Linked DNA regions of Homo sapiens: regions 2, 3, 4 and 5 are each linked to region 1. The links are contacts of gene promoters, found by promoter capture Hi-C in blood cells and fetal thymus (Javierre and others, 2016). All regions are on one chromosome and are shown on one strand. Each heading gives the region's core, a stretch centred on a gene start or on the middle of the fragment in contact. The rest is flanking DNA. Distances are from core to core; before and after follow the strand shown. Region 1 holds the start of PAPSS1 (3'-phosphoadenosine 5'-phosphosulfate synthase 1). Region 2 overlaps TBCK (TBC1 domain containing kinase). Region 3 overlaps TBCK (TBC1 domain containing kinase). Region 4 overlaps AIMP1 (aminoacyl tRNA synthetase complex interacting multifunctional protein 1). Region 5 overlaps AIMP1 (aminoacyl tRNA synthetase complex interacting multifunctional protein 1).

Evidence for each region. The method cuts DNA at HindIII sites, captures the fragments that hold promoters and counts their contacts. A CHiCAGO score of 5 or more calls a contact.
Region 2: a fragment that was not itself captured here is called in contact with the fragment with the promoter of PAPSS1 in region 1 in 1 of 17 cell types (total CD8 T cells); the score reaches 6.9 in total CD8 T cells.
Region 3: a contact is called between a fragment that was not itself captured here and the fragment with the promoter of PAPSS1 in region 1, in 5 of 17 cell types (naive CD8 T cells, naive B cells, activated CD4 T cells and 2 more). The highest score is 6.4, in naive CD8 T cells.
Region 4: a contact is called between a fragment that was not itself captured here and the fragment with the promoter of PAPSS1 in region 1, in 8 of 17 cell types (total B cells, naive B cells, total CD8 T cells and 5 more). The highest score is 21.1, in total B cells.
Region 5: a contact is called between a fragment that was not itself captured here and the fragment with the promoter of PAPSS1 in region 1, in 6 of 17 cell types (naive CD8 T cells, total CD4 T cells, total CD8 T cells and 3 more). The highest score is 8.4, in naive CD8 T cells.

Annotation. Positions count from the first base shown.
Region 1 is chr4:107,718,178-107,722,176 of GRCh38, forward strand. PAPSS1 (3'-phosphoadenosine 5'-phosphosulfate synthase 1) reads right to left here and starts at 2,057. Exons shown (of 12, transcript NM_005443.5): 1 at 1,943-2,057. The coding sequence starts at 2,002. RefSeq lists enhancers at 1,310-1,369, 3,360-3,509 and a silencer at 2,000-2,249. The HindIII fragment of the contact is 5,198 bases long and covers 1-3,934 here.
Region 2 is chr4:106,269,404-106,273,402 of GRCh38, forward strand. The region is part of intron 3 of TBCK (TBC1 domain containing kinase); the gene reads right to left. Among named protein-coding and RNA genes, the nearest start is that of TBCK, 45 kb to the right of the region's middle. The HindIII fragment of the contact is 176 bases long and covers 1,644-1,819 here.
Region 3 is chr4:106,298,195-106,302,193 of GRCh38, forward strand. All of the region lies in intron 2 of TBCK (TBC1 domain containing kinase), which reads right to left. Among named protein-coding and RNA genes, the nearest start is that of TBCK, 16 kb to the right of the region's middle. The HindIII fragment of the contact is 1,459 bases long and covers 1,328-2,786 here.
Region 4 is chr4:106,317,539-106,321,537 of GRCh38, forward strand. The region is part of intron 1 of AIMP1 (aminoacyl tRNA synthetase complex interacting multifunctional protein 1); the gene reads left to right. Among named protein-coding and RNA genes, the nearest start is that of AIMP1, 3.0 kb to the left of the region's middle. The HindIII fragment of the contact is 502 bases long and covers 1,501-2,002 here.
Region 5 is chr4:106,336,460-106,340,458 of GRCh38, forward strand. It overlaps AIMP1 (aminoacyl tRNA synthetase complex interacting multifunctional protein 1), which reads left to right. Exons shown (of 7, transcript NM_001142416.2): 6 at 410-578. Among named protein-coding and RNA genes, the nearest start is that of AIMP1, 22 kb to the left of the region's middle. The HindIII fragment of the contact is 3,256 bases long and covers 246-3,501 here.

The DNA of each region.
Region 1 (3,999 bases), core at 807-3,306:
TGAGAGAGGAAGAGATGACGGGTGTTCCATGAGGGAGAGAAAAATTTACAAGGATCAGAAAATTTAAAATTCTAGCCCCATCAAAAATCCCCCATAGAATCAAGTCTTCTCTGCAGCCAAACACAAGAGCATCACGGAGCCCCAGCCTCCCTATTGAACCTTACCTCCACTTCCCAACAAAAACTCTCCAGGGCAGTCAAACAAGTTTCGTCAATGTTTCTGGAGTAAAAAAAATAGTAATTTTTATTCCCAACACTTATCCATGCAGTTCCCCTCTGACTCAGAAATCTGAAATCCTCCATAAACCCTCCCAAAACGCCCAGGCGAAACTAATCTCTCCTCTAAATTGCAATAAAACTTCTGTCTTACGCCACTCACTCTGGACCACAAAGACATATTCACCACTTGGCAAATGTCACAACCCCAACACAAACCATGAACTACCAGAAGGCAAGCAGTAAGTCCCACATTTTTCACCACCATGTCTAGCACAAGTCTCTACATAGAATACGCACCATGTGGCAAATGTTAATAAATAAATGAGTACATAAATGGACAATGTAACAGAAATCATCTGTAAATACCCCAAGTAAGCCAACCTTATTTCCCTAACCGTGAAACACCTTAAGGTAAGAGAAGCGAAACTGAGTCTGAGTTTCAAGGCAGTGGTTTCACCGCACATTCAAATTCATGATCTGTCTTCTTTGTTCATCAAAACAATCCCGTGAAGTACATACTATTATACCCTTAAGTCAACTGAGGTTCGAAAAAGTAAAGTGACTCTCCTCAAGATCACACAGCTAGTAAATGGCAAAGCTGGGATGAGAGACCAGGCCAGGAGTCCAGCGCTCTTTCCACTGTTCTAATTCATCTTTTAAATCTCCTTCCCCTCCTTACCATCTATAGAGTTAAATAAAAGGAGAGAGGAATCAGTAAACAACTCATGATAACAATAACAACAGATGTGGTAAATTAATGACTTCCAAAGAACATTTGCCTGAAATTGCTTGTTTTTTTTTTCTTTGATTCATCTAGGGCAAGTAACGTTTTGGGAGACATTGCATTTAAACCTTATTATTCCATTGGACTGTGAAATAACGTTTCCGTCTAAACTTAAACCAGTGCCTTTCCAGACTCCAAAGATGGGCCCTTCCCTGCTGCACACTTACAAAGGAAGATAAGGCTCTTTCTCATCACAGAGAAATTAAGGAAGTAAGCAACGTTATGAGGACACAGCACTTTACAAAGTCAACTGGCAGTCATTACTAAACGTTATAAAGGACTGGTCCCATACCTGACTGTCACCAGGAATGGAGTCTTCCAAACTCCTACTTGTTAAACATTCCGATTTAACACAGAGACACAAAGAACCTCAGTTCAGGGCAGTCTCAACTCATGAATGACCACATTGTTGGGTACTCTCCTTTCACACTGAAACTCAGAAATGGAAAGACACGGAGATGGACCCAAACCTGGGCCAACCGCACTGGCAGAGCCAAGAAAAACCAAGAACGCGTCGAAGGCGCCCGCCTCCGCCTTCTCTGCACATCTTCAGGCCACTCCAAGGTATGCAGGAAGCTCCTGTTTCTGCAGCCGCAGGTTTCAGCACCCGGAGGTTTCAGCAAGCGCCAGTTCACGGGTGAAGGATTTTCCTGGGGGTCTTACCTGAGCGGAGGCGCTGGGGAGGGGGGGCGTTCTTCCCACGAACGGTGGCTCGGACCGCACGCTGCGCCAAGCTAGGGCGAGATCCCCACCCTGCGCCGCGCCCCTCTGCCTCGCAACCACCCACGGCCCCAGCCGGGAGGCGCCGCAGCCCCGGAACCCACCTCCGCGCTCCTGGAAGGATGGATGCGGAGGAGGCGGGAGAGAGGCGGCGGCTCCGGAACGAGCTGCTCCCACAGCCCCTCCGCTCCTCGCCGTCTCGCCTTCGTCCCCAGCTTACCCAGTTCTGCGCGTTATTGCTCAGTTTGACTTTCTTGCACAGGCTCCCGGGGATCTCCATGACCGCGGAGCGCGCTGAGCAGCCGGGGTTCTCTGCGCCGGGAGGGTAGCAAGAGGAGGGCAGGCCAGCGAGCGGGGCGGGGCTGGAGGGCGGGGCCTCCTCGCGTCGGAGCGGGCGCGCGCTGACTTAAGCACGCGCCCGTGCTCGTGGCCTGGGTTGCGCGGCGCATGCGGCGCGCCTCGGAAATGGGTCCGGGGCAGAGGTCTGTGGGGAAGGGCGAAACGCCGGGATAGAACCGGAGGTAGAAGCTGGGGGCGGAGCTTCAGCGCTCGCGCCGGCGCGGGCGCGCACGGCGCTCCTCCTTCCAGATCCCGATGAAGGGGCGGGGCCTGGAATGCAGTCGTGGAACCTCAGGTGCCTCTGCGGCACCGAGCCTAGCTCTGAGCTAACGCAGATCTCTAAGAGCGAGTACCAGCCGCCGGGAGAAAGGCAAGGGGAGTGCGCGGCTCGCCGCGCGCGGCACTCCCTCAGCAGAGGCTGATTGGGAGGACGCTGACGCGGCCTCTTGCACCTGTGGCTACTCCTCCACAGACCTGGCTGCCGACCTCCTGTCTGCCCCTTCTGTGCCCATGTCACCCTGGCCAAATGTTTTAAATGTTTTACAGCTTTGCAAAGGGAAGAATTGATTTACCGAACAGCTCATTCTCCACATTAAAATTCTACTCAAGACACAATTTTTTTTCTTTTTTTGAGACGGAGTCTTGCTCTGTCGCCCAGGCTGGAGTGCAGTAGTAGGATCTCGGCTCACCGCAACCTCTGCCTCCCGGGTTCAAGCGATTCTCCTGCCTCAGCCTCCCGAGTAGCTGGGACTACAGGCGTGTGCCACCACGCCCGGCTAATTTTTGTATTTTTAGTAGAGACGGGGTTTCACTATGTTGGCCAGGCTGGTCTCGAATTCCTGACCTCATGATCCGCCCGCCTCAGCTTCCCAAAGTGCTGGGATTCCAGGCGTGAGCGACAGCGCCTGGCCTCAAGACACAGTTTTTAAAAAGATATAATAAAAGCCCGATTTCTTGACATCAATAATTAATATCTCAACCTGGATTAGTGATTACTTATAAGGTGCCTCCCTCTCCGCTAGGAGACCCCACTTCGCATCAGATTTCTGTGCAGTGCTTCTTACCGACCTACACCGGAAAGGGGCTTCTGTATTATTAAGAGCTACTCAGGAAATACCTAGAGGACTGAAATCCAGGACCGGGGAGGCCGCAGGTAACCCCGAATAGAACTCCCGCCTACGGAGGACATTTTCAAATTCACCTAATTATTCCAGGGCTAGTTCGTAGGAGGATGGGCTGGGGGCATGACAGAGTTTCCTCCAGGAGTTATCTTCCCCACACCCCCCATAACTCTGAGTTCTCTTTTCCGCAGCTTGCCCCTGGCACCAAAAGAGTTGCTTGCAGCTCTGCCCCCCTGTGACACAGCCGCCCTCCGCCCCTGACCCCGCCCATCACCAAGACCTGAGACTGCTGCCTGTTAGTGACTAGCAAATTAGCCCCCATCACCAAGACCTGAGGCTGCTGCTGCTGCCTGTTAGTGACTAGCAAATCAGCCCCCATCACCAAGACCTGAGGCTGCTGCCTGTTAGTGACTAGCAAATCAGCCCTCCATCTATTTGCCCCACTGCTACTGTCTTAAATTAGGCCTCCCCTATATCCAGCCTGAGTTATCATTAAGCCCGTTCACTGGACATCCTCCCAGCTGTGCAGCCGCTCTCCACATCCCCGCCACACACCCCATTCTTGCACCTGCTGTCAGAGCGGTATTTCTGAAACAGAAATCTGATCTTGTTACTTGACTACTTAAAATGTGAATGGTTCCCTTCAGCTTTTTTTCTAGGGAATTTTCAATCTGGGGTTCATACATAGAACTGAATTTCAATATAATTTCAAATTCTGCCAATAACAGGAATGAGCTTGGAAGAAGATCTCAAGCTTCATATGAGAAAATAGGGCCACATCTGAAGTTAGCCATTGCTCTGAGTTCTGGTTCTTATT
Region 2 (3,999 bases), core at 482-2,981, 1.4 Mb before region 1:
GACACTTATCACTTACTAAATTTTGATGTTTTGTAAAAAAATACCACAATATTTAACAGAGCAAAAAGGATGAAAAATACAACAGTTTCTGGAATTGAAAAAGGAAATAACACATTTCAGTACTGGGCACACATGTTTTAGCCTGAAAGGACACAACTATCCATGCTAAATTTAAGAATGTATTTGCCTCAGATTCAGATGTTTTGAAATGGAAATTGCATTGATAAACTGCTACCTAAAGATTGTTTTATAGTAAGTCTAAAAAAAGTAATCAGTCCATCTGACTTTCAGTTGTGAGACTAGGCATATTTTACAATTTAGCTTTAACTCCAAAATAATCAAAATAGAACCCTGTAAGTCTGGAATGTGTCTAATTCTCAACAGGAGACAATAAATTGGGAAATTAACTTTCCAACTTGAATACTAGATAACTTTTCTTCTCAGCAGAAAATTAACTTGGTAAAATCAAATACATATGGAAAACATAGTCTAGCGGTTTGAGGTTCAGACATAAAGCCAGGAGGCTCTGTCACTGATTTGTTATGCTTAGACAGTGTTCCAACTTCACCCTGCCTCCATTTGCAAATTTATAAAGTAAAAAATGTAACACCAAACAGAAGCTAAATGGAGATCAATGAGCTATCGGCCCTGCACAGAATCTTAATCATCTTAAAAGCAAAACAAAATAAACAAAAAGTCCAAGTCTCCCTCAAAAATCCCAGGGTTTTTCTGAAACTATACAATATATTTTGTTATATCATATGTATATATCCTATAAATTAACAAAAATTGCAAGTTGAGTTCTCCAACTATTCTCCTGACATAACTGAATCAGAAGAACCGTTTTCTAACTTCTCTGTGAGAATAAAATCACCATTTGATACACAGGTCTGGAGGATCTCAAGATTGGCTGCATATTTCTGCCCCATCAATGTTTTCTTCTCCTAAGCATTTTTTCCTATCCTTGCACAGAAACTTCAAAACCTCTTTTGTCATCATAGTCACTAATTCTGGCTGTGCAAACACACTAGGTAATAAGTCCAACTCCCCATACCCTGGCAGCATTTGGGATGTTGGAAGACTGCAACTTTTCTCTAAGACAGAACTTATCATGGCATATAGTGGGTTAAATCTGTACCCTGCATCATTCCAAAGTTGTTTTTTAAATTAAAATTAATGTATATATTGCCATGTGAAAAAAAGAGAAACAAATTTCTATTACTGTTCAGAATTTTGATTTGAGACCAATTCACATTTTTAAGTGGACTAATATTTTAGATGACTAATTTATCACCCTACCCATCTCAAATAATGAATGGGAGAGGGCCTGAATAATATGGATTGCTTATTACAGCATCTGCAAGACAGCATATTGTAAACAAAAGTTTGTCAAACTGAAATGTTCAGTTAAATAAGTATTGGTCTGTCTTAAGTAACTTATGACCAGTATGATTGCTGAAAAAACCCTATTTACCACGTCCCTTGTATTTGTCAGCAGTTGGGGTGATACAGTGATTATATTTAGATCAGAAAATCCAAAAATAGCCAAATTTTATTCTTAACTACTTCTACTAGACTCCATAAGCTTCCTATGATTCATAAATAGGAAGGCAGACAAAGCAAAATAATACTTTAATAGCCAAAGCTTTGTCTCCAAATTTTAATGTAGAACTCTGAGTTCTGCTTACCTATATAAATAAATACTTTTCCCTAAACCAGATCACCTTGAATTAGTTAGTTCTGTCTATTTCACCTAACCTTGAACTAGACTTTCAGTTCTCAATACTATGATATAAGGAAGATCATACCAATTACAGCAAGCTTCACAAAAAAGAGTAAGAAAAAGCTCTTATCCATATAATCCCATAATGACCCAGGAATACTGTGTAAAAATTGGAGAATAGTTATCTTTTACCAATTCACAAAAAATATAATATTAATAAATATGGATTCTTAATTTTAGGTTCTCCTGTGTGTGTTGTTTTCTTGTGCAATATCTGCAATCACTTATTTCAACCAGAATCTATAAGATGGTAGCTAATTTAGCTCAAATACTTTAAAACTGTTCTTAACAGTGGTGGCTCACACCTGTAATCCCAGCACTTTGGGAGGCCAAGGCAGGAGGATCACCTGAGGTCAGGAGTTCCAGACCAGACTAACCAACATGGCAAAACCCCATCTCTACTAAAAATACAAAAATTAGCCATGTGTGGTGGTGGGAGCCTGTAATCCCAGCTACTTGGGAGGCTGAGGCAGGAGAATTGCTTGAACCCAGGAGGCAGAGGTTGCAGTGAGCTGAGATCGCGCCACTGCACTCCAATCTGGGCGATAGAGCAAGACTTTGTCCCAAAAAAAAAAAAAAACAAAACAAAAAAACAACTGTTCTTAAGTTGTATAAGTCAGTATCTCATATTGTTCTACAAAGAGCACATTGATTTCTAGGTTTCCCACCAATGGAAGAATTTTAAGAACCTTTCATCAAAAGCAATGGTACAGAATCACCTTAAGGGCTCATTAATATAGATACTGCTGGGTTCTACTCCCTGCAATTCTGATATAGTATCTAAGATGAGTCCCAAGAATTTATATTTCTAATAAGTTCCCAGGTGATAATGATGATGAACCACACTTTGAGAACCGCTGTCGTAGAAGGCGAATATAAATGAACCTGTTTCACTTTCAGGTATACAGGAAGGTATAGTATAGAACAAAGATAATAGGTTTTAGATTTAAACAGAACAAAGTTTAAACCCCTGGGCTATCTTTTTCTAATTGTCATCTAACCTCTAAGTATCTTTCTTAATCTTTAAAATGAAGTAATAATAACCGCCAGTACAGCTATGTGGTAAAGTTTAAATATAACATGCTTATAGAGCCTGGTATAAAGTAGGTACTCAAATATTGGTTTCTTTCCGTGCTACATACGTTTCTTAATGTGTGTATAGCCCCCATCATCCTTTCTCTTCCAAGAATAAGTTCATAGAAAGAACTCATCAACTTAATTTCTTTTGACGCTGATGACAATTTTTTTTTCAACTAAGAAAATATCTAGGCTTACTCAGCTCCAAAGTCATTGTTTATTTAATTTTTTTTTTTTTTTTTTTTTGAGACAGAGTCTTGCTCTGTCGCCCAGGCTGGAGTGCAGAGGTGCGATCTTGGCTCACTGCAAGCTCCGTCTCCCAGGTTCATGCCATTCTCCTGCCTCAGCCTCTCGAGTGGCTGGGACTACAGGCGCATGCCACCACACCCAGCTAATTTTTTTTTTGTATTTTTAGTAGAGATGGGGTTTCACCGTGTTAGCCAGGATGGTCTCAATCTCCTGACCTCGTGATCTGCCCACGTCGGCCTCCCACAGTGCTGGGATTACAAGCAAGAGTCACCTCGCCTGGCCTCTTTAACTTTTAACTACAGTTAAGGGTATTTTGCATATAGCAAAGATGTAATAGAATATAAGCAAAGCAAACCAATCGCGTGGGTAAGTACAGGGTAAAAGTTTAAAATTTAAATCCCAATTATGGGTTCACTTAACTGAATAGTCTAGTAGGTCCCATTGAATAACCTGGTATTTCTACCTACCTACAGTAACAGTTAAAATAATAGCAATGATAAAGATAACCATACCACAACCACTACTATAAGTATAGCCCTTTAATAGGTCTATCCACCTTTTGTAATATACAGATTTTTAAGTCACAAACTTTGTGACTAAATTAAAGACTGGGTCTGGATAAATGGATGAAAATTCAACCCTTGGCTTTACAATTGTAACTATAACAACAAAATGTAAAAGGAATACAACTTAAGATGAAGTTCCTCTTGAAAAGATCTGATATTAACTGGGATATCTAAATCTTAGACATAATAAATTTTTATACAAATCATATGAGATATATGCCTCACAGCAATGACTTTGAAACAACAAAATAAAACTTTTTTTCCTGACCTCTTTTCTAAAGAAAATGAACTTTGTTTATAGGGGCAGCAAGTAGAATTGAAATC
Region 3 (3,999 bases), core at 807-3,306, 1.4 Mb before region 1:
TTACTTTCTGCAGTTTCCAAACATTTTAAATGGAATATTCTAGAAATAAAAAATTCCTAAGTTTTAAATTGCATGCCATTCTGAGTAGCACAGTGAAATCTCTCACCAGCAATTAATATATGCCAAAAAGAAGACGTGGCCGGGCACGGTAGCTCACGCCTGTAATCCCAGCACTTTGGGAGGCAGGCGGATCACGAGGTCAGGAGACCACCCTGGCTAACACAGTGAAACCTTGTCTCTACTAAAAATATGAAAAAAAAAAAAAAATTAGCCAGGCGTGGTGGCAGGTGCCTGTAGTCCCAGCTACTCGATGGCTGAGGCAGGAGAATGGCATGAACCCGGGAGGCAGAGCTTGTAGTGAGCCGAGATCCTGCCACTGCACTCCAGCCTGGGCAACAGAGCAAGACTGTCTCAAAAACAACAACAAAAAAAAGAAGACGAAAAGTGCTTCCTTCAAGTGAAAAGGTGAAAGTTCTCGACTTGATAAGGAAAGAAAAAAAACCAGTTGTTAAGATACATGGTAAGAAATTTTCTATTCGTGAAATTGTGAAGAAAAAAGAAAATCATACCAGTTTTGCTCTCACGCCTCAAACTACAAAATTATGACCACATTGCAAGAGAAGTGTCTAGTTAAGATGGAAAAGGCATTAAATTTGTGAGTAGAAGACATAAACAGAAGAAACACGTTCTGACTGATAAGAATCAGATTCGGTACAATCCTCAGTTTTAGACATCCACTGGGGGTGCTGGGGGCCTTCTTGGAACATATCCCCTGAGGAAAAGGGGGGCCTACTGTGATATCTTTTTTCCTATCAGATAATATATTTTATGATGGCAGGAATGAGGTGGGTCTCATCACAGGTGCCTAGCAGTGCATCAGTAGTTGCACACAGGTGCATCACAGTAGTACATCACAGGAGCCTAGTGCACACAGGTGTACTGCATCACAGGTGTCTAGAATGTCACCTACAACATATAGGCATGTAATATAAAGATAACTGTTAGATGAATTAACTTTAGCAAAGGCATGATGTGGCCATTAGAAATGAAGAATCTCATATGACCACAGTCACTGAACAGAGCCCTGTCCTGTGTAGAAAATTACATGCCCACGTTATAAACTCAGTATAACTCAGTAGCACTGACTTTCATGTAAAACAAAAACAAAATAATTTATTAAAATGTGCATATTCCATTAATTAACCATTTTAAATTGGATATTCATAATTCTTCATATCTATAAGAGATTTCCAAAGTATCTGGCACAACTAAAATTTTTCAGGTTTCTGGAAACCCCTTCAAAACATCATAAACAAGTGTTTGCCAAAGCTTCAAGATTCTATGGAACTATTAAGCATAGTTTTAATACTGCTGAGCCATAATCCTCAGCAGAACATCAAAGTTTCTCCCAGAGATAATGGAGTGTATACCAAAACAATATTTCCAATATGAACCATTTTTTTAAAGAAATCTTTAGAGAGTCTTCATTCTGAAATCTCTGGACCACTGTTTAAAAATAACATGTTATAAAAACAATATAGTTTCACAGAATAAAGCATTTAGGAATCATAATGTGCCAAATATAAATCATCAATGTAGTAGCATTATTTATAAAAAATAATGTGATGCTAAGATGAACTTTAAAGAGTAGAATATACAATAATTGTGAAATAGTCTTACTTCTAACAAAGATTTGAGGAAGCAAAAGTATGATGTAGCGTCTCTAGCCTGAACTGTGTGTTTTAGGTTTGACAGGGCTTGGCTGTGTTCCCACCCAAATCTCATCTTGAATTCTCACGTGTTGTGGGAGGGACCCAGTGGGAGGTAATTGAATCACAGGGGAGGTCTTTCCCATGCTGTTCTTGTGATAATTAATAAGTCTCATGAGATCTGATGGTTCTATAAGGGGGAGTTTCCTTGCACAAGTTCTCTTTTTTTGGCCTGCTGCTATCCATGTAAGACGTGACTTGCTCCTCCTTGCCTTCCACCATGAATGTGAGGCCCCACCAGCCACGTGGAACTGTAAGTCCATTAAACGTTTTTCCTGTACAAATTACCTAGTTTTGGGTATGTCTTTATCAGCAGTGTGAAAACAGGCTAATACAAAGTTAACACTAAGAAACTGAAGAGAACACACATTTAAGCAAGAATAAAGGAGTTGAATAAGGAGTAGGGGGAAGTAAAATAAAGTTTTTTAAAGTAGTGGTTTTTTTGTTTAAATTTAGAGAAAGAGGTGAATCATGAATGTCTTAAAATAATATAAAGGGTTATTACAATATATTTACTGCATCACTTTTGTTATTAACAGTAAAAATCGAGACTAGCTCATCACCTTTAAAATATGATATTTCAATAAGTGTTTATACAGTTCAAAACCAACAAAGAAAAACATTATGCTTAAAGAATAGTATTGGTACCAGAACACTGTGATGGTCAGTTTTATGAGTCAGCTTAGCTAGAATATAGAATCCAGTCATTCAATCAAATACTAATCTAGATGTTGCTGTGAAATTATTTTGTAAATGAGTAAAGTCTATAATCAGTTTACTTTAAGGGAAATTATCCTAGATAATCAGGGTAATCCTGATTCAATCAGTTTAATAGCCTTTAAGAGCAGAATTGAAAGCCAAGTACACTGGCTCACACCTATAATCCCAGCTACATGAGAGGCTGAGACGGGAGGATCACTTTAAGCCAGGAGTTCAAGACCAGCTTGGGCAATATAGTGAGACTCCTGTCTCTGAAAAATAAATAAATAAATAATAAATAAATATGAGCAGAATTGAAGCTTCCATGAAGAACAATAAATTCCAACTGTGGATGACAGCTTGAGCTTCTGCCCAAGAGTTCAGCTTGTCCTTCTTGAAGACCTGCCTCATGGATTTCAAACTTGCCTAGCAGCACCCCACAATCATGCAAACCAATTCCCAGCAATTCTTTTTTATATATTCATATAACTTACATAAATAACTTATATAATTATATATATAATTTGTTCTGTTTCTCTTATGAAACTAATACAGATTAAAATTTATATGCTAGAGATACAGAATAAATTATCTTGTAGTTCCATATAATTCTATTATTCTCTACTTTAATTTCAAATAAAATAATTTTTATTCTTGATTTCACCAGCAATCATTGAAAGATTTCTGGATAATCAATACCAAATAAAAAAGGATGCACTACCATTTACCATCTTCACTCTGCTTCTAAACACAGCTGAGATTTCAAGCTCACAAGAAAAGATAAAATTTGTTAACATAGTATTTTCAGGCTTTACTGGCTTTTTTTCTCCTAAAGATATTTTTCTCCTATTAGAAAAAAAATTCTGAAACTCTAATAAAATGTTTGCCATTCCTGAGATTAAAAACTTCATCCTGCTGAGTTAGCAAGAAAATATTATCATCTTTGATTAGTTTCGAATGATCTATAGAAAACAGTGAAAGCTAGACTTCTGAGCTAACATAACATGTGAAAACATAATGTTACTAAAACAGACCACATGTAACAAGAGTATGTGACTCCAAGTAAGAAGTCAATTGTTACTGACTTAACAATAACATGCAGGGTGGGAGGGGGCATGACTAACAATAGCAAGATATCTGCATAGCAAGAACAGAATAAAAGAGGAAAAGTAGAATCAAAATCAAAATTCTTTGAGGAGACACAAATCAAAGTCATGTGGTATTACACCATTGAAAAATATGTGTTCATATTGAGAAATACTTTCACTAAGGAGACTGTTCATCAGAAACTTCAAATTTTTCAAAGTAGATGCAACTGAAATGACTAGAATGTTTTGGAACAAACAGACTTTTACATAAGCAATTACTCTAACGGTAAATTATTCCTTATACACACAACTTTTCAGAATGCTAAACATTGCCAATAAAAACAAGATAATCAAATTCCCTAGCCTAATGACAATCCATATTTTCATTTCAGACAACTAGACTTAGAATATATAAACTTTACACATATTCATGACCTATGTTA
Region 4 (3,999 bases), core at 502-3,001, 1.4 Mb before region 1:
ATCCAGAGGAAGCATAATGGTGGTTTGACTATGGGTGGTAAGAAATGGCCAGTTATATTCTTGATGCACTTAATTTGGATATGTAAGAGTATTATAGATGACAGGGTTAATTTTATTTAATTAGGCTTTGGAGGACACTTGAAAAATGAATTCCAGTGTGAGTTTCAGAGTGGCAAACACAAGTTAAAATCATGGCTTTGCTATGTGGTACTTGAAGGGATTCAGATAAGTCATGTAATTTTCCTGGATCTGTCTATAAAATGGAAATCACATCTGTCAAGATTGCAAAGGTTAGGGTATATTATAGGTATTTAATGACAAGGTATGTAATGGGTCTAGTCTGCAAATCTTAACCAGGTAAAAGATGGCCTTATTGTGAGGTAAGAGGGTCATGGGAGGCCAAGGCATACTCCTTTTTAAATTTTATGGACTCTGTACTGGGGAGGAAAGTTTTTGTGTTAATGACGATGGTATTTAGAAATGCATGGACTGGCCTCTCATAGCTGTCCACCCTATAGTCATTCCTTATAGCCATCCTTTAAACCCTCCAGGACCCCCTATGTCCTCATCAGTAAAGGGAAAGCAGGCTGTCTGGTAAGGGAAATAGGAACTTCCATAAAAAAGCAATTTTAGATATTCTTTTTATAGGTTTTGGCAAAGGTTGATAAAAGACCTAGGGAATTACTGCTGGTTGCTGCGCTTACATATTTTGAGTGTCTTCAGATGCATTGTTCTCAGTGTATTTAATTTTCTTCTTTAAATTCTGACTTTTGACACATATGATTTAAATCCTAGCAGGAATTTTCACCTAGTGCTAAAAGGTACCACATTGCTTTACACTATAATAAGGACGGTCTTTCAGTGTGGGGTATTTTATGTATACTATAATATTTTTACATATCCAGTAATTAGATTGTGTAGCAAATCAGGGAAAGAAGTTGGAAGGCAAGAATAGGAATGAAGGGAGGAGAAGAAAGGAAGAAAATGATTAAAATTACTATATTCCATCAATTCTGAGATACACATTTTTCTCTTACTTAACATCTCTGAAATAGGGATGTATTTTTAAGTTGTTGACATCTTTAAATCACTGTAGATGAATTGGCAGTTGTGAGATATTTGTCATTGCCCACACTTACACCCACTTAGTCATAACTTAATCTTGTCATTATTTCAGTTGAGTTATATATGCACTATTGGCATATAGTTGTTGAGTGTAATTTCCCTTTTAAAGATCATTTAGAAGATTATGATTAGCATTAGAATGAAAAGTTACTGTGTATGTGGGGAAACAAAGGGTGATACAAGATAAAAATCCAGGGTTAAATTTAAAAGAAGTCTGTCAATAAATAATATAGGATGTGTCTAAGTAATAAGAAAGCATTGGGTCAGTTGATTCAATAGTGTTTTTTTTCATAATGTACATAAAATAATAGAGCTTCTTGGGATTGAAGCCATTTTACAATTGATGGCATTTTAGATTTCTTGTATAGTATTTAAAGCTTCCAACAAAAATGTAAATTTTTACCTACTGTAATTCTGAAATAGGGAAATTAGAGGTTTTGAGTAGAGACACTTTCAAATTTGTGTAGCGTTCCTATATAGCATAAGAATTCTAAAATTAAAAGTCTGCCTGTAAAACTTTGATTTCAAAGTAGTAACTTACTTATGTTTGATTCCCAATGTTGTCATCGTGGGGCAGAGATTTTGCTTTTTCAAAAAGATTGCAGGCAATTTAGATGGTGTGGGTGGGGAGGACTACTGAGGAAATTGCTCAGTAAACAAAAATGATAGTGAAGATCTCAGAATCTCAAAAATCATCTTTTGTGTGTGTATTTTAATGATTAAGATGTACTATAAATTCATGTACAGTATTTGGGATTCTGCATTAGAGGCATCGTATGATTAATGGCTTTTTAGGTTTGATGAAGTATGATAATTAACATTGAGAAGGACAAAATTAATGTGAAGGGACAGAATGATTTAGATAATATGTTTCAAAAGCTTTTGTCCTAAAAAATGCATTATTACCATTTTAATTTAGTAAAGGAAAAAGAAAAGGTCTTGATCCTCACCAAACACAATTAACATACTTGGTCTACAGTTTTCTGTGCTTCTCTCTTCATAAATGTTTTATATTTTCAATTACTGTGCATGTCATTCTTATATCTATTTTAATCTCACAGTCTTAATTTTTTTACATTTTAGTCCAGAGACTTAAACTAGCATTTCCTAAACTGTTTTAGAGAATACTAGTTCAAATAAATGTTAATAGCTGTTCCTGTGTTAGGATTCTGTCATTAAATATATTGGAAAATGCTTCGTAATTATATCCTTTAGAGAAATTATAGCTAGAGCATTAAAAGAGCTAACTGCAGCATCAGACAGACCTGAGTTTCAATCCTCGTTTACTATGTATTACATGAGGCAAATTAATTTTAATTCAAGTTTTCTTCTCTGTATAATGGAGATTATTACAGTATTCGAAATTGACTTGTGTAAAGCATTTAGCCAGCCATAGCGCATGTTCTACAAATATATGTAGTTGTTATTATCATCTATGAGAAACTTTATACATATTAGAAACTCTGAGGATTTAAAATTTTGAAGGTTGACTTATACTCAATGTAAAATTGAAAAATCACAGGGGAGTAATTAGCATAGAGATTAATGAAATGAGCACTGGGTTGAATGGTAAAAGATTTGTTTGAGCTTTAAGCAGTATTGTTGTTAAACTATCACTGTGCCCTAAGCGTAACATTATTTTAAAAATGTCTTCAACTGTGTTTCCCCCATTTGTCTGAAAGCTTAGTTAGTTCAAAGAACATGTTTATTTTTGTTCTCTACTATAAACCCAGCACATGACACAAAATCAGGGAGTGTAAAGTTGGGGTCATGAACTTATTTTAGGAGCCTGGTAGGTAATATAAATGGCAGACAACAGGGAGTAGTAAAGTGTCTGTCTGTCTTACTTAAAGACATTCACATCAGTTATTTCCAACACTGTTAGCCCTGGAAAAGAAAGCTATCCCTGAACTTTGTCAGGCTAGTTTGTGATCCCTAGAAAAGATTAGTGATTAAGACCAAACCCTGAAGAACAGCATCATTAATGGGACAGATTAAAAAAAAAAGGAGCCCTGAAAGGAGGTGACAAGGAAGTAGGAGGTGAAATCAGGTACAAGTAATTTTTTAAATTAAGAAAAGTATAGCCCTCTCCCTCTCCCTCTCCCTCTCCGCACCGTCTCCCTCTGATGCCGAGCCGAGGCTGGACTGTACTGCCACCATCTTGACTCACTGCAACCTCCCTGCCTGATTCTCCTGCCTCAGTCTGCCGAGTTCCTGGGATTGCAGGTGCGCGCCGCCACTCCTGACTGGTTTTTGTATTTTTTGGTGGAGACGGGGTTTCACCGTGTTGGCCGGGCTGGTCTCCAGCTCCTGACCGCGAGTGATCTGCCAGCCTCGGCGTCCTGAGGTGCCGGGATTGCAGACGGAGTCTCGCTCACTCAGTGCTCAATGTTGCCCATGCTGGAGTGCAGTGGCGTGATCTTGGCTCGCTACAACCTCCACCTCCCAGCCGCCTGCCTTGGCCTCCCAAAGTGCCGAGATTGCAGCCTCTGCCCGGCCGCCACCCCGTCTAGGAAGTGAGGAGCGTCTTTGCCTGGCCGCCCATCGTCGGGGATGTGAGGAGCCCCTCTGCCCGGCCGCCCAGTCTGGGAAGTGAGGAGCACCTCTTCCCGGCCGTCATCCTGTCTAGGAAGTGAGGAGCGTCTCTGCCCAGCCGCCCATCATCTGGGATGTGGGGAGCATCTCTGCCCCGTCGCCCCGTCTGAGATGTGAAGAGCGCCTCTGCCCGGCCGCGACCCTGTCTGGGAACTGAGGAGTGTCTCTGCCCCGCCGCCACCCCGTCTGGGAGGTGAGGAGCGTCTCTGACCGGCTGCCCGGTCTGAGAAGTGAGGAGCCCCTCCGCCCGGCAGCCGCCCCGTCTGGGAAGTGAGGAGC
Region 5 (3,999 bases), core at 624-3,123, 1.4 Mb before region 1:
TGCTTTATTATGCATGTTATGATTTAATCCTTATGACAACTCTTCAATATTATTTCTCTCATTTTTTGAGGAAACAGGAGTGTCAACTTTATGCATTCTCATTGCTAGTACATGGCAGCTGAAATTCAAAACCAAGTCTGTTTCACTCATTTATTCATTGAGTAAATTTTTAACTGAAATTCCTCTGCTCTTTCAACCATAATGCGTTATCAATTTGGAGGAATTTTTTTTTCATGTTTATGCAAAGCTTCGTAACAACAATAAGAGACTTTGGGCACACAAAGACAAAGGTACATCCACAAAAGTAGAACATTTGATACTTAGCATATTAGGTGTAGCTTAATGTAGTCTGGATATGATTAGGCTTAATCTGTGTACATCTTTACTTACCAGTTTATATTTCACACAGATGCAAAATCGGATGGTGATTTTACTTTGTAACCTGAAACCTGCAAAGATGAGGGGAGTATTATCTCAAGCAATGGTCATGTGTGCTAGTTCACCAGAGAAAATTGAAATCTTGGCTCCTCCAAATGGGTCTGTTCCTGGAGACAGAATTACTTTTGATGCTTTCCCAGGTAGGTATTTATTAGTAATTACTTAATAGTTTCGGAATCAGTTCTCAAAGTGATGTTTGTAATGCTTAAAGGTTAAAATCAGTCCTGTGTAAGAATCATGAGTCTTACATTAATGACCATTATTAACTATTATTGAGTTTTTCAAGATTGGCTCAAGATGACACATTGAGTAAACCTTGTAATCATTCTCCTCCCCATGAATGTACATGTTGTATAAAACACCTGATATGGTTTGACTATGTCCCCACCAAAATCTCATCTTGAATTGTAGTTCCCATAATCCCTACATGTCATGGGAGGGACCCGGTGGGAGGTAACTGAATCCTGGGGGCAGGTTTTACCTGTGCTGTTCTCATGATAGTGAATAAGTCTCATGAGATCTCATGGTTTTATAAAAGGGCAGTTCCCCTACGCATGCTCTCTTGTCTGCTACTATATAAGACATGCCTTTGCTCCTCCTTTGTCTTCTGCCATGATCGTGAGGCCTCTGCAGCCATGTGGAACTGTTGGTCAATTAAACCTCTTTCTTTTATAAATTACCCAGCCTCGAGTATATCTTTATTAGCAGCGTGAGAATAGACTAATACAGTAAATTGATACTGGGTAGTAGGGACACTGCTGTAAAGATATCCGAAAGTGTGGAAGCGACTTTGGAACTGGGTAACAGGCAGAGATTGGAACAGTTTGGAGGGTTCAGAAAAAGATAGGAAAATGTGGAACAGTTTGGGACTTCCTGGATACTTTCAGGGCTCAGGAGATAGGAAAATGTGGGAAAGTTTGGAACTTTCTAGAGACTTGTTGAATGGCTTTGACCAAAATGCTGATAGTGATACGGACAATACAGTCCAGGCTGAGGTGGTCTCAGATAGAGATGAGGAGCTTGTTGGGAACTGAAGCAAAAGTGACTTTTGCTATACTTTAGCAAAGAGACTGGTGGCATTTTGCCCTTTCCCTAGAGATCTATGGAACTTTGAACTTGAGAAAGATGAGTTAGGGTATCTGGCAGAAGAAATTTCTAAGCAGCAAAGCATTTAAGAGGTGACTTGGGTGCTCTTAAGCATTCAGTTGTATTCATTCACAAAGACATGGTTTGGAATTGGAACATGTTTAAAAGGGAAGCAGAGCATAAAAGTTTGAAAAATGTTCAGACTGAAGATGCAGTAGAAAAGAAAAACCCATTTCTGCCAGCTGCAGAAATTTGCATAAGCAATGAAGAGCCAAATGTTAATTGCCAAGACAATGGGGAAAATGTCTCCAGGGCATTTCAAAGACCTTCACAGCAGCCCCTCCTATCACAGAACCTGAGGCCTAGGAAGAAAAAATGGTTTCCTGGGCTGGGCCCAGGGCCCCCGTGCTGTGTGCAGCTTAGGGACTTGGTGCCCTGCTTCCCAGCTGCTGCAGCCATGGCTAAAAAGGGCTAAGGTACAGCTCAGGCCCTTGCTTCAGAGAGTGCAAGCCCTAAGCCTTGACAGCTTCCACATGGTGTTGAGCCTGCAGAGGCACAGAACTGAGGTTCGGGAACCTCCGCCTAGATTTCAGAAGATGTATGGAAGCCCCTGGATGTCCTGGCAGAAATTTGCTCTAGGGGCAGGGCCGTCATGAACCTCTACTAAGACAGTGCAGAAAGGAACTGTGGGATGGGACCCCCCCACACACAGAATCCCCACTGGGGCACTGCCTAGTGGAGCTGTGAGAAGAGGGCCACTGTCCTCCAGACCCTAGAATCATAAATCCACTGACAGCTTCCGCAGTGTGCCTGGAAAAGCTGCAGACATTCAACTCCAGCCTGTGAAAGCAGCTGGGATGGTGGCTGTGCCCTACAAAGCCACAGGGGTAGAGCTGCCCAAGGCTGTGGGAGCCCACCTGTTGCATCAGCATGACCTGCGTGTGAGACATGGCGTCAAAGGAGATCATTTTGGAACTTTGAGGTTTGATGACTACCCTGTTGGATTCCAGACTTGCATGGGGCCTATGGGCCCTTTGTTTTGGTCCAATTTCTCCCATTTGGAATGGTGTATTTACCCAATGCCTGTACCCCCAATGTATTCTGGAAGTAACTAACTTGCTTTTGATTTTATGGCTCATAGGCAGAAGGGACTTGTCTTGTCTCAGATGAGATGCTGGACTGTGGGCTTTTGAGTTAATACTGAAATGAGTTAAGACTTTGGGGAACTGTTGGGAAGGCATGATTGGTTTTGAAATGTGAGGACATGAGATTTGGGAGGGGCCAGGGGCAGAATGATATGGTTTGGCTGTGTCCCCACCCAAATCTCATCTTGAATTATAGCTCCCACAATTTTCACCTGTCGTGGGAGGGACCTGGTAGGAGGTAATTGAATCCTGGGGGAGGGTTTTTCCTGTGCTGTTCTCATGATAGTGAAAAAGTCTCATGAGAGCTGATGGTTTTATAAAAGGGCAATTCCCCTACACGTGCTCTCTTGCCTGCTGCCATGTAACACATGCTCCTCTTTAACCTTCTGCCATGTGGCGGCCTCCACTGCCATGTGGAACTGTGAGTCAATTAAACCTCTTTCCTTTAGAAATTACCCAACCTTGGATGTATCTTTATTAGCAGCATGAGAACAGACTAACAGAACACCACAGAGAGATTTTGTCCTAACTAAAGCAATAATATTAATACCAGCGTAGCAGAAAAGTATGACGTGGATAGAGAACAGATTAATGTGCTGCAAAATCTCTTATGCTGTAGATTGTCTCATGCTGCAGCACAGAAAGACAGAGATGAAAAGTTTAGATTTATAATTATAAATTCCATCTAATAATATACTTGCATATGTTTTTACTCAAATTCAGGATATAGAGAAAATATCTAAGTTAAAATGTAATGATTTTAATAATCTAAAAGGAAGTTTCATTTTGTATTGCCTGTTTTCTCTAATAAAAATACTCCTGAGACAGATGAAGCTTCATAATGTGTGAGAAAGTTTCTTCAAATAGGTCTTTGAAGCAGAAGAGAAAAGATTCTTGGCAGATATAGAATAAGTATTTATCTCATATAAGAGGAAGGACCTGATAAAAAGAAAAACAGTTAGAAATTAAGACTGCATTTAAAGGATATTTATTTGACTAGAGTAATTGGGAAAGGCAGATATAAATGAAGATAAATAGAATTAGGTAAAAGAACAATTTGGAGACATATTTGTAGAAATGACTGAGGATTTGTGTGTGTGTGTGAGCGAATTATTTTGTAATGGTGCAATAAAATTAAACTAAGGTTTTTTGGGTTTTTTTTTTTCCAACTTGTATTTTAGGCTCAAGGGATACAGATTTCTTATATTGGCAAATTGTATGTCCTTGAAGTTTAGTATAGGAATGATCCCATCACCCAGGTAGTGAGCATAGTACCTAATAGGTAATTTTAGAACCCTCACCCCACTCCCGACCTCCCTCCTAGTAGTAC